Linked DNA regions of Homo sapiens: all the other regions are linked to region 3. The links are contacts of gene promoters, found by promoter capture Hi-C in blood cells and fetal thymus (Javierre and others, 2016). All regions are on one chromosome and are shown on one strand. Each heading gives the region's core, a stretch centred on a gene start or on the middle of the fragment in contact. The rest is flanking DNA. Distances are from core to core; before and after follow the strand shown. Region 1 overlaps AUH (AU RNA binding methylglutaconyl-CoA hydratase). Region 2 overlaps LINC00484 (long intergenic non-protein coding RNA 484). Region 3 holds the start of AUH (AU RNA binding methylglutaconyl-CoA hydratase).

Evidence for each region. Contacts are between HindIII fragments. The CHiCAGO score rates a contact against its expected background, and 5 or more counts as called.
Region 1: a contact is called between a fragment that was not itself captured here and the fragment with the promoter of AUH in region 3, in 3 of 17 cell types (activated CD4 T cells, total CD8 T cells and endothelial precursors). The highest score is 9.1, in activated CD4 T cells.
Region 2: a contact is called between a fragment that was not itself captured here and the fragment with the promoter of AUH in region 3, in 1 of 17 cell types (total CD8 T cells). The highest score is 5.3, in total CD8 T cells.

The regions. Positions count from the first base shown.
Region 1 is chr9:91,214,013-91,218,052 of GRCh38, reverse strand. AUH (AU RNA binding methylglutaconyl-CoA hydratase) reads left to right here. Exons shown (of 10, transcript NM_001698.3): 8 at 726-776; 9 at 1,947-1,994; 10 at 3,628-4,040. The coding sequence ends at 3,705. Among named protein-coding and RNA genes, the nearest start is that of LINC02937, 53 kb to the right of the region's middle. RefSeq lists an enhancer at 172-772. The HindIII fragment of the contact is 968 bases long and covers 1,015-1,982 here.
Region 2 is chr9:91,168,318-91,172,796 of GRCh38, reverse strand. The region is part of intron 2 of LINC00484 (long intergenic non-protein coding RNA 484); the gene reads right to left. Among named protein-coding and RNA genes, the nearest start is that of LINC02937, 7.3 kb to the right of the region's middle. The HindIII fragment of the contact is 4,198 bases long and covers 345-4,479 here.
Region 3 is chr9:91,359,222-91,363,468 of GRCh38, reverse strand. AUH (AU RNA binding methylglutaconyl-CoA hydratase) reads left to right here and starts at 1,551. Exons shown (of 10, transcript NM_001698.3): 1 at 1,551-1,841. The coding sequence starts at 1,580. RefSeq lists a silencer at 1,381-1,820. The HindIII fragment of the contact is 2,357 bases long and covers 841-3,197 here.

The DNA.
Region 1 (4,040 bases), core at 249-2,748, 150 kb after region 3:
CATAAATGGTATTTTAGGACTTTAAAATGTGATCCAATAATGAAATTCCATCTGAGGGATTCTGGTTTTTCTGCTTGGTAAGAGTTTGGCTTCTGCAAGACACAGGTAACATTCTCCTTCTCACAACAGATATCCAGTTCATTCCTTGTGACTCTTCTGCATCCTGAAAGACTTATGTAGACTTCATATTTATGTGTGCTGTGGGAGCACTGCTTAGAGGACACTGTTGATTAATCCACCATCATTGCTGTTAGTTGTCAAGGCGAATGGAGGAAATATAGCCAGTGTCTGAAGGAGATGATATCAGAACCCTACCTTAATCAATAGCAACAGCCTCATCCCCAGCCCAAGCTTCTTTCAAAACCCCTAATTGGTGTGGTACTGAGGCAAAGACTACCTCCTTTTCCTTCCTCTACTTAACTTCTAGGAAGTGTTGCTGAAGAACAGCAAGCTCACAGCTGGACATGCACTACCTGCTCACCTTTAAGGATCCGGAGTTTGCAGCATAACAAAACATGTGGAATCTAAATAATGTGCTGATGTGGTTGTTGCAGTTGCTCTTTAATTACAGCCTTGCAAGGCTCAGAAAATTTTCCATCTAGTATCTGACAGCCATTGCTGGCTGTGCAATGGATCCAGTGGTGGGAATTCTGAATTTTACTGAGATATACGACATAATTTGCATAAAAAATAATTGAAGTCTGTTTCTTTAATTTGAATTTTAGGGACCTGTTGCAATGAGAGTGGCAAAATTAGCAATTAATCAAGGGATGGAGGTAGGTTCCTTAATGCTTGAGTTTGTTTTGGGAATGGAGAGTGGAGATTTAATTTAAATGAACCATGTTTAGACTTCTACATTTTTTTTAAAGTTCTAAAATATGGTTGTTTAAATGCTACTATTACTGAAAGCTACTGAAGTTCCTTGCAAGTACGTCATTTATTTCATTCTTACAGTTATTGCTAATTCAGTATCACAAGCACAGAATTCAGTAATTTTACCAGTGCCCTGAAGCTTATGACATGCTCATTATTCTTGCCATCCAGTTAACAGACAGATTTATTGGCTAGTAGTTCATAGAAAACCAAAATAACAGGGCATTCTGTGCATTTTTAGCATCAGTATTATATTATACAAAACATTCCAAGAACAGCTAGCTCTTTCCACCTTTAGCTTCTCAGTGTGCCTTCTACAAGGAGGCACACGCAATGCAGGTATAAGGTGAATCCATTGTGTGTCCTGGGGGTACCCCAGGGAGATGACTCCAAAAGAGTGAAGGCCCCAGGCCTGGGAGGAGGGGGTGGTGCACATACCCATTTATTGGACTTTTCATGGCAGTTATTATATTTTGGGTAACTTATGGGTATTTTGAAGAAAAGTGCTTCCTTCTTGGTAGACTAAGGAACCTCCGCATCTTCCTGGGCTGTATAGCAGTAAAAAGAGATTGACTTTATACAGTCAATACTGTATAACAGTAAATACAGTTTCATAAATTTGCAAAAGTATTTGATTGGTTTATTTAAATATTTACATAATGGTAACAATACCAATAGCAAATACCTTATATAGCCCTTACTATGTATTAAGCATCGTGTGTGTGTGTGTGTGTGTGTGTCGCGACATAAAGGCCTCACCTAGATTAACTCATTTAATCCTCACAATACTCCCATTTGGTGAGCATTATAATTAGCCCCTTGTTCAGACATGCCTCTTTGAAGCACAGAGAGGTTAAATAACTTCCCCAAGGTAACTCAGCTCCCAAGTGAGGGAGTCAGGACGAACCCAGGAAGCCTGGTTCTGTGTCTCATGTTGGTCACACTCTGATCTGCTGTACTATATCAAAGGATTGGGTGCTTTGGGGATAAGGTTATTCAATTTGAATTTCTGTTGAATATACCACATTTCGCAAAGTTATTTCTGCTGAAATGGATTATGTTTTTATTCTCAGGTCGATTTAGTAACAGGGTTAGCCATAGAAGAAGCTTGTTATGCTCAGGTATGTAATGCAATCACAAATTCAATGAGGATGACCCTTACAAATTATATTTACCTTCTGTATAATTCAAATGAATTTCACTGAGCAAGATTACCCTTGCGCCCATTCCAAAATCATACAAATGGGTTGAAATTAGTTGTTTCTGCTATTTGTTACCAGCTCTTATGACTGATTCTGTTCCACAGGAATGCCTCTTGTCTATATAATCTAGAAAACTCTTAGAGTAACTGAGTCAGTCCTGGGTGTGCAGGAGCTGTCTCTCTAGGCTTATGCTTTCTTTTGTGGGATTGGTCCTGGCCTCCCACTGCAATGTAGAGAGGTAGAGGAGAGTGGTGATGAGCGTGTGCCTGCCATGCAACCTGGGGTGAGACTGCTTGGCTTTTCCTGAACCTCTGATCTGTCTCTCCTGACCACTGAAAGTTCACTAATGAAATTATAGTTTTATTTTTTACACAGTCGGCCCTTTTCATCTGTAAGTTTTGCATTTGTGGATTCAACCAAGTGTAAATTGAAAATATTCAGGAAAAAAAAAGATGGTTGCATCTGTACTGAACATGTACTGACTTTTTTCCTTATTATTCCCTGAACAATATAGTATAAGAACTGTGTACATGCCATTTACATTATATTAGGTATTATAAATAATCTAGAGATGATTTAAAGTATACAGGAGGATGTGCGTAGGTAATATGATATGCAATTTTATTAATATATAAGGGACTTGAGCATCTGCAGATTTTGGCATCTGCAGGAGGTCCTGTAACCAATCCCCTGCAGATAACTGAGGGATGACTGCATACAAATTATTAGGTCTTCCTGGAGAGGAAAAAAAAAATGTTTTCCCTTTTTTGTCTTTCTCTGAAAGATAGAACTTTGTTTTAGGGCATCTGAAATAGCAAAAAAGTTTTGTTCTACCTTTCCTGGGAGTTGGAAACTGCATGAGCACTCGTTTAAAGGAGCAGTATCTAGAGTGTGACTCTGTGCCCAGCTTGTATATATAAATCACCACCTGTCATTGATGAGTACGTGCCATGAGGAAAGTGAATTACAAACGTCTTAGAAATAGCCTCAGAGCCCAAAGAAAAATTTTAAAAGCACATTTGGCCATAAATTACAACTTACTAAATGTAAACACCAGAAATTATTCAAGGTATTCTTCAGACCACAATGGAATTAAACTAGAAATCAATAAAAGAAAGACTGCTGGAAAAACCCAAAATATTGGGTGATTAAACAACATCCTTCTAAATAATGTTATATGTCAGAGATGTCTTGAGGAATTATAAAGTATTTTGAATTAAAATGAAAATACAACTTCTCAAAGTTTGTGGGATATACTGAAAGCAGTGCTTAGATAGAAATAGCATTGGATGTATATAATAGAAAAGAGAAAATATCTAAATCGATAATAACCTTCCACCTTATTAGGAAACTAGAAAAAGAAGAGCAAAATGGGGTAGAGGACCACTTGGAGTAAGAAGGATGAGTTTGGTTACATAATTAGGAGAATTGTTCAGGTGACTGATTTCAAAATTTTAGAATGTGGTTCTAAGTAGTTTTCTTAGATAGTGCTTGATAAACTTTTACAGTTGTTTTAACATTTTTGACATATTTAATATTTTGTTTTTCTTAGACCATTCCAACAAAAGACAGACTTGAAGGTCTTCTTGCTTTTAAAGAGAAAAGGCCCCCTCGCTATAAAGGAGAATAAAAGGAACAGAAATTCTTAAGATGCCAATGTAATAAATGTACTTCCTGGAAGTGTCTTTCGGATCCACTATATGCCTCAGCACATGGAACCTTAATGACCAAAGTGAAGAGCAGATTATTCATACGGTGTAATAAGCATCTGGAATGGACCCATCCGTGTACTTCATTCAAATGTGTAAATGTCATATTCATTCAGATTTATAAAGCTAGTAGTGTATAGTCAGAAACAGAATCAAAGTTAGATATACATTTTTAAATATTTACTGCATATGAGGCTTTCTGTTAATTTTTTAATGTGAATAATTTATATATTGCACATTCTAGGGAATAATATTG
Region 2 (4,479 bases), core at 1,194-3,693, 190 kb after region 3:
TGCTAACATCTGTTATTTTTTGTCTTTTTAATAATAGCCATTCTGTCTGGTGTAAGATGATATTTCATTGTGTTTTTAATTTGCGTTTCTCTGATGATTAATGATTTTGAGCATTCTTTCTTATGTTTGTTGGCCATTTGTATGTCTTCTTTTGAAAAATGTCTATTCATGTTCTTTGCCCACTTTTTAATGGGATTATTTGAGGTTTTTTTGTTGAGTTGTTTGAGTTTCTTATAAATTCTGACTGTCAGTCCCTGTCAAAATGCATAGTTTGCAAATATTTTCTCCCATTTCACTAGTTGTTTGTTCACTCAGCTGATTATTTCCTTTGCTGTGCAGAAGCTTTTTAGTTTAATTAAATCCCATTTGTCTGTTTTTGTTTCTGTTGCCTGTGCTTTTGAGGTCTTGGTGATGAATTTTTTGCCTAGACCAATGTTGAGAAGTTTTCCCTAGGTTTTCTTTTAGTACTTTTATAGTTTCAGATCTTACATTTAATTCATCTTGAGTTGACTTTTTTTATCTGGTGAGAGAATACGATCCACTTTCATTCTTCTGCAAATGACAATCCAGTTTTTCTAGCACAATTTACTAAAAAGAGTGTCCTTCCCCCAGTATATGTTCTTGTTGACTTTATCAAAGATCAGTTGGCTATAAATATGTGATTTTATTCCTGTGTTATCTACTCTGCTCCATTGATTTGTGTGTTTATACCAGTTCCATGCTGTTTTGGTTACTGTAGCCTGGTGGTATAATTTGAAATCAGATAATATGATGGCTCCAGCTTTGTTCTTTTTGCTTGGGATTGCTTTGGCTATTTGGGCTCTTTTTCAGTTCCATATGAATTTTAGGACTATTTTTTTCTAAATCTGTGAAAAATGATGTTGGTATTTTGGTAGGGATTGCATTAAATTTGTAGATTGTTTTTGACAGTATGGACACTTTAATAATATTAACTCTGATCAATTAGCATGGGATGTTTTTCCATTTGGGTTATCTACAATTTCTTTCATCAGTGTTTTGTAGCTTTCTTGGTAGAGGTCTTTCATCTTCCTGGTTAAAAATATTCCTAGATGTTTTAATTTTTTGGTAGGTATTGCAGATGGAATTGCCTTCTTGATTTGGTTCTCAACTAGATCATTATTGATATGTAGAAATGCTACTAATTTTAGTAGATTGATTTTGTATCCTAAAATTTTCCTGAATTTATTTATTGAATTGAAGAGTTTTTGATGGAATGTTTAGGGTTTTCTAGATGTAAGAATGCATCATCAGTGAACAGGGATAATTTGACTTACTTTTTTCCAGTTTGGATGCCTTTTATTTCTTTCACTTGATTGCTCTAGCTAGGACTTCCAGTACTATGTTGAATATGGGTGGTGAAAGTGGGCATCCTTGCCTTGTTCCAGTTCTTGGAGGGAATGCTTTAGACTTTTCCCCATTTAGTATGGTGCTGGCTGTGGGTTTGATGTATATGGGCTTTATTATTTTGAGGTATTTTCCTTCTGTGCCTAGTTTGTTGAGGTTATCAATTTATCATGTAAGGGATGCTGAATTTTATAAAATGCTTTTTCTGCATCTGTTGAGATGATCATATAGTTTTTGTTCTCAATTCTGTTAAGTGATGTTTCACATCTATTGCTTTATGTATGTTGAACCATCCTTGCATTCCTCATGTAAAATCCACTTGATCAGTTCTCAAATTGATCCATGGATTCAATGCAATCCTAATCAAAATTTTAGCAAAGAATTTTTTGTAGAAGTTGAGAAACTGATTCTAAAATTTACTTGAAAATATAAAGGACCTACATTAGTCAAAGACATTTTTAAGAAGTTGGAGGGCTGACACCACTTGATTTTAAGACTTCCTACAAAACTACAGTAACCAAGTAGTATGGTAATACTGAAATGTTAGATACATAGAGCCCTTGAACATAAGAGGGATAGTCATAGACAGGCAAAGATAGCCATAGATAATCAATTTTTAACAAAGATACCCACTCAAATTAATGAAGAAAGAAATGTTTTTTTCAACAACTGAGTATATGCATAAGGAAAAAATGAACATCAACTCTTACCTTGCTCTGTATACAAAATTCACTTGAAATGACCATACACATAAAAATCCTAGAAGAAAACATAGGAGACAATCCTTGCAACCTTGAGTGGCATATGTTTTTTACATAGGATACATAAAGCACAATCCATAAAAAATTGATAAACTGGACTTATCAAAATTTACAGCTTTTGCTTTTCAAAGGCACTACTAAGAAATGAAGGCAAGTCACAGAATAGGAGGAAATATTAGCAATACCTATATCTGATGATAACTTGTAATCACAAAACATAAATTGTGCTTAAATCTTAATATTATGGCTGGGTATAGTGGCTCACATCTGTAATCCCAGTGTTCTGGGAAGCCAGAGTGGGAAAATAGCTTGAGCCCAGGGGTTTGAGACCAACCCAGGCAACATAGTGAGACCCCATCTCTACAAAAAAATTAAAGATATAGTCAGGAGTGGTGGTGCATGCCTGTAGTCTCAGCTACTCAGGAGGCTAAGGTAGGAGGATCACTGAAGCCCAGGAGCTCAAGGCTGCAGTGAGCTATGATCATGCCATTGTATTCCAGCTTGGGCAACAGAGTGAGACCATGTCTCCAGAAAAGAAAAAGAAAAAAACCTCAAAATAGTAAAAGGACAGGCTTTTTTTGCAGATGCTGCCACCACCCAGGGCCCCCTGCCACCAACCATGATGGACATCACCGATAATGGTGAGCCCTTGGGTTGTGTCTCCTTCTAGCTGTTTGCAGACCAAGTTCCAAAGACAGCAAGAAACTTTTGCACTCTGAGCATTAGAGAGAAAATATTTGGTTATAAGGATTCCTGCTTTCACAGAATTATTCCAGGGTTTATGTGTCAGGATGGCGACTTCACAGGCCATAATGGCACTGGTGGAAAGTCCATTCATGGAGAGAAATTTGATGAAAACTTCATCCCAAAGCATACAGGTCCTGTCATCTTTCCATGGCAAATGCTAGACCCAACACAAACGGTTTCCAGTTTTTCATCTGCTCTGCCAAGACTGAGTGGTTAGAAGGCAAACATGTGGTCTTTGGGAAGGTGAAAGAAGGCATGAATATCTCAGAGGCCATGGAGCACTTTGGGTTCAGGAATAAGAAGACCAGCAAGAAGATCACCATTGCTGACTCTGGACAGTCTAATACATTTGACTCGTCCTTTATCTTAACCACCAGACTACTTTTTCTGTAACCTGGAGACCACCCCTCCACCCCATTTGCTCACAGTAGCCTATCATCTTTTGCTATCGATGCATTTTTTTTTTTTTTTGAGATGGAGTCCCCTCTATTGCCCAGGCTGGAGTGCAGTGGCACGATCTCAGCTCACGGCAACCTCTGCCTCCTGGGTTCAAGCGATTCTCCTGCCTCAGCCTCCTGAGTAGCTGGGACTACAGGCAAGCGCCACCATGCCCAGCTAGTATTTGTATTTTTAGCAGAGACAGTGTTTCATCATGTTGGCCAGGCTGGTCTCCAACTCCTGACCTCATGATTTGCCCGCCTCAGCCTCCCAAAGTGCTGAGATTACAGGCCTGAGCCACCGCGCCCAGCTGATGCATTCTTTAGGTTCCATATTTTCCTTATTCCCCTCCAGTTCTAGCTGGATTGCAGAGTTAAGTTTAAGATTATAAAATAAATATTAAATAACAACAAAAATAGTAAAAGGACAAAGAATACAATGTATACATGGGCAAATTATTTGAACAGACACTTCACCAAAGAAGATATAGAAATGACCAACAAATATAACATATATAAATGGCCAAAAAAACCATGAAAAGATGTTCAACATCATCAGTTGTCTGTGAATTGCAAACAAAACTGCAATGAGAGATCACTACACGTCCACTAGGATGGCTAAAATTACAGACCGACAATACCAAATCAGTCTTGGTGGGAGTGTAAATGATGCAAACACTTTAGCAAACTATTGGGCAATTTCTTAAAGTTAAGCATATACTTTTCATATGACCTAGTTTTGCCACTTTTGGGTATTTTCCCAGAATAAATAAAACATATGTTCACACAAATACCTGTGGGTGAATGCTCATACCAGCTTTATTCACAGTAGCCCCAAACTGGAAAAACCCCACACGTCTATTAACAGGTGAATGGAGAATCACTGTTGTATATCCATACAATGGAATACTATTCAGCAATGAAAGAGAATGAACTCTTTATACTCCCCACAGCATCAAGGAATCTCCAGATCACTATGCCGGGTGAGAGAGGCTAGCCAGAAAAGAGTATATCCTTCATGATTTCTCTTACACACAAATTAAACAACTCAAACTAATCTATAGTGATTTAAAAAACAGATGTGTGGTGTCCTGGTGTCCAGGGTGGTGGGAGATGAGGCAAAGGTGACCAAGGTGTGTCCCTTGTGGGTGATGAAGGTGTGTTGCCTC
Region 3 (4,247 bases), core at 302-2,801:
CTTTACAAAAGATAGAATAAAAAGTGGGCTGTGCATGGTGGCTCACACCTGTAATCCCAGCATTCTGGGAGGTCAAGTTGGGTGGATCACTTGATGTCAGGTGTTCAAGACCAGCCTGGCCAACATAGAAACACCCATCTCTACTAAAAATACAAAAATTACCCAGGTGTGGTGGTGTGTGCCTGTGATCCCAGCTACTCAGGAGGCTGAGGTGGGAGGATCATTTGAGCCTGAGATGCAGAGGTTGCAGCGAGAGGCGATCACACCACTGCACTCCAGCCTGGCCGACAGAGCCAGAACCTGTCAAAAAATAAAAAATAAAAATAAAAATAAAAGTGCCTTCAACATCATTTTACAGCAGATGCAGTAATGGAATTCAGTCTACTTTTTGTTTCTACATTGGATAAAAGTTGAGGACATAATGAAGGATGTTTTGCTTAGGACTAAAAAATACAAGAAATTTCTGTGGCACTAGACGTATGCTCATAGCAGCACACTTTTCAAACAGTATTCTTTTTTTTTTTTTTTTTTTTTTTTGAGACAGAGTTTCACTCTTGTTGCCTGGACTGGAGTGCAATGGTGCAGTCTCAGCTCAGGGCAACCTCCGCCTCCCGGGTTCAAGCAATTCTCCTGTCTCAGCCTCCCGAGTAGCTGGGATTACAGGCGTGTGCCGCCACACCTGGCTAATTTTGTATTTTTAGTAGAGACAGGGTTTCACCACGTTGGCCCGGCTGGTCTCAAACTCCTGACCTCAGGTGATCCACCTGCCTCGGCCTCCCAAAGTGCTTGGATTACAGGCGTGAGCCACCGCCCCCTGCCCAGTATTCTTAAATGCAAGCTTTCCCATTAGAGATCTGATAAAAGCTAGGTAGCATTAATTATACTGCAACGTGCTTTGATGAGTACCTACACACTAAATTGATATCCCGAGTTTCTGGAAGAGCTACATACTCTAAATCCCATCTCAGCGTATGGCTTGTTTGAACCCCTGTAAGACTCTTTCCGTCCAGGAAGGGCCATGGGACATCGGTACGAGTGGGTGGGCTGGAGAAAGAACTCCTTTGCCTGTTTGCTGTTCTCATCCTTTTCCTGAACGCCACGTAGTAAACATCATTTATGCTTATCAGGGACGCTAAACCAACAACCTGAGATCCATAAGTAAGGCAGTGACCAACGATGGGCTGCCACACTTTCAGCCAACTTGAGGAGACAAAACTTTTTTGTTCACTTTTGCAGCTTACTTAACACAGGACCGCAGGGCATGGTCCAGGGAGTACGGGGAGATAATTCCCTCCGGGTGGTTCTTATAGAAAAGTCTTCCCTGAATTATTCCATAACCTTGGAAAACTACTTTCTTTCCTTTTGTATTGGACAAACCATCCAATCTCGCTTGGAGAATGGGGCAAGGCCTCGGGTCACCGGGCTTCGGCGGGGCAGTGAGGGGCGGGAACACGGCTCCGGAGGGCGGGGCCAAGCCGGAGCGAGGCGGCGGGTCCGGACGCCGTGCGCGTGCGCGCGGCAGGTCGGCGCCGGGCGGGGGCGGAGCGGCCGTCGCAGGTCCACGCCGTAAACAGACAACATGGCGGCCGCGGTGGCGGCGGCACCTGGGGCCTTGGGATCCCTGCATGCTGGCGGCGCCCGCCTGGTGGCCGCTTGCAGTGCGTGGCTCTGCCCGGGGTTGAGGCTGCCCGGCTCGTTGGCAGGCCGGCGAGCGGGCCCGGCGATCTGGGCCCAGGGCTGGGTACCTGCGGCCGGGGGTCCCGCCCCGAAAAGGGGCTACAGCTCTGAGATGAAGACGGAGGACGAGCTGCGGGTGCGGCACCTGGAGGAGGAGAACCGAGGTGAGGTGCGAACGCTGGGCAGGCGCGGGGCAGCGGGCGGCCGCTCGCTCTCAGGACGGGCATAAGGTGCAGCGTCCGCCGGCAGGACGCGGGGTCGAGGTCAGGCAGGCGCACCGAACCTGGGTCCCTCCCCTTTCTCACCTCCCTACTCACCCAGCGTGGCCGCTTCCTTGTGCACCTATTTCTTGCTTTTAATAACCTAAACGTGTACCCCCGAGCAGCTTACCTGTAAAGTGACCGCATTCAGCGCGGCAAACAGAAGTGCAGCTTACGCCCTCCGCTCCAGACAAGCCAAGGTCAATATATACCCTGGGGATTTAATCCTTGCTACCAGGCTTTATTGTTGCTGTGTAATGGCTTTCTGTAAACTCAGCTATTAGTGGTGGAGTTGTAAAAGCTGCGGTGAAACTGCCTTTTATTATTACGGAGAATCTTAAATTTGAAGCTGCTCAGCTGGAACAATTTTTCCTCTTGTTCATTTTCTCTTAGAAAGTTAGTCTTGAGGGACTGTTCCACTTCATTTAAACAATTTTGAGCACTTTTTATTTTCCTCAGCTCTGGCGATAAGAATGTGGATGGTATGGATCTTGCCCTTGAGCTACCTTCTACGGGAGGAGACATCATTAGCAATACAATACAGAGCTTTGAAGGCTTTGAAGGAGGCTGACAATCCTAGGGAATACTGTTACAGCTCAGTTCCTTTCACTGGCAGTGCAGGGAAAAGCTAAAAGGGTCGTGAAGGGTGGAATAGCAGTTTCCACCCTTAACCTCCGGGTTAAGCCAGAGGACCAGTGTTTTAATTTTGACATGCATTTGTTGAGCACCTATAATCTGTTAAGCAGAAGTGAAAAGCGTGTAAGTCGTGATTGGTTTTAGTGTAGTGAAGCAGATCCTGGTTATTAGTAGGCTGTGTGAACTTTCAAGGCATGGTAAGAGGAAAGGGCTGTAATACCTGCAGGGTTTCGCCATTTGAAAGGGGTTCCAAGGCATTCTTTAATAGGCAGTGGATTTTGCCATTTGTGAGGGTTCTTGGGCAGACTTATCTCACGTGTAAAACAGGAAAAACAATACCAACTTTATAGGTTTGTTATGAAGATGAGATGAGATTGTTAATGTAAATTGCCACTAGCACGTAGCAGTGCTTCAGGAGTGTGATGAATGACTTTATTCCTTACTTATTATTCCAGACAGAGACAAGAACATGGTCAAAGGCATGGAGATGTGAACATGTGTGGTGTATTTGGGACGTAACATAAGGCAAGTGTGGCATAAGCAGAATAGTAAGAAATTCAGCTGGAAGCATAGACTAGCACTGGAGTGATTAGAGCCTGAATGCCATCATCTTTTGGGTAAGCTTAGTCATGCCGGGACTTCACTTCCGTTAAGTGTACCAACAATATGTTAGATATAAAGGGATTGCAAGTACAGCTACTAATATGCACCATATTCTATTTTTTTGGTCGTTATGACTTGAATGCAATTAAAGGAATATTTGTGCAGAATGTCTGGACAGACTTTAAGTTAGGATCTGAATGGACAGAAGAGAGAATATCAGATAATAAAAGATAATAAACGAAAATTTTTTTGGGTATCATGGTTTCTTTTTTTTTTTTTCTTTAGCCTTGATTTCCTGATGAGATAGGACATACATCATGGTTTCTTAAAGTTGACCCCGCCTCCTTTGAGAATTGGCAAGAATGACGACTCAGGCTTGGCTAACATTACCTAGGCTTTGCTTTGCTTTACTGTTGAACCAGCAATAAGCAGTGCAAAGAAAAACATGAGGTCAAGGGTACTACAGGTGAAGGAGTTTCCTGGGTGCCTTTATTTCTCTTAGAGGTGGGTCCAAAATTTGGTGCTCTCAGCAGCCTCTAAGGAATAGGATAACTCTCCTAGTCACAGGAGCCTCAAACAGCATGCAGCACTTTAGGTGGGTGGGGGTAAGTAGTGCAGAATACACCAGGTCTCATCTGTTATCTGGGCTCCATATTTGTAATTTGTTGTAGGAGGCATAGCTCTATAACCAAATTTCCTTTTCTTTTCTTTTTTTTTCTTTTGAGATGGAGACTGCCCAGGACTTTGAGGCTGCAGTGAGCTATGATGGAGCCACTGCACTCCAGTCTGGGTGACACAACAAGACCTTGTCTCTTAAAAAAAAAGAAAAAATGTATGAACCTATTTATGTAGAATAGCTCCAACAGAACATATGATCCATTTATGTAAAATAGCAACAACAAGCCAAATGGTAATATACAACTCTATTTCTGTATGTAGATACGTTGAACATTTTCTGGAAGGTTACATTACATGTAACTGTGATAACTGTGGCTTCTTCTGGGGAAGGGAATGAGCTGGTTCTAGGGAAGGAGGACTTTCACTTTGAGTGTATTTTTTCATTTTGTATAA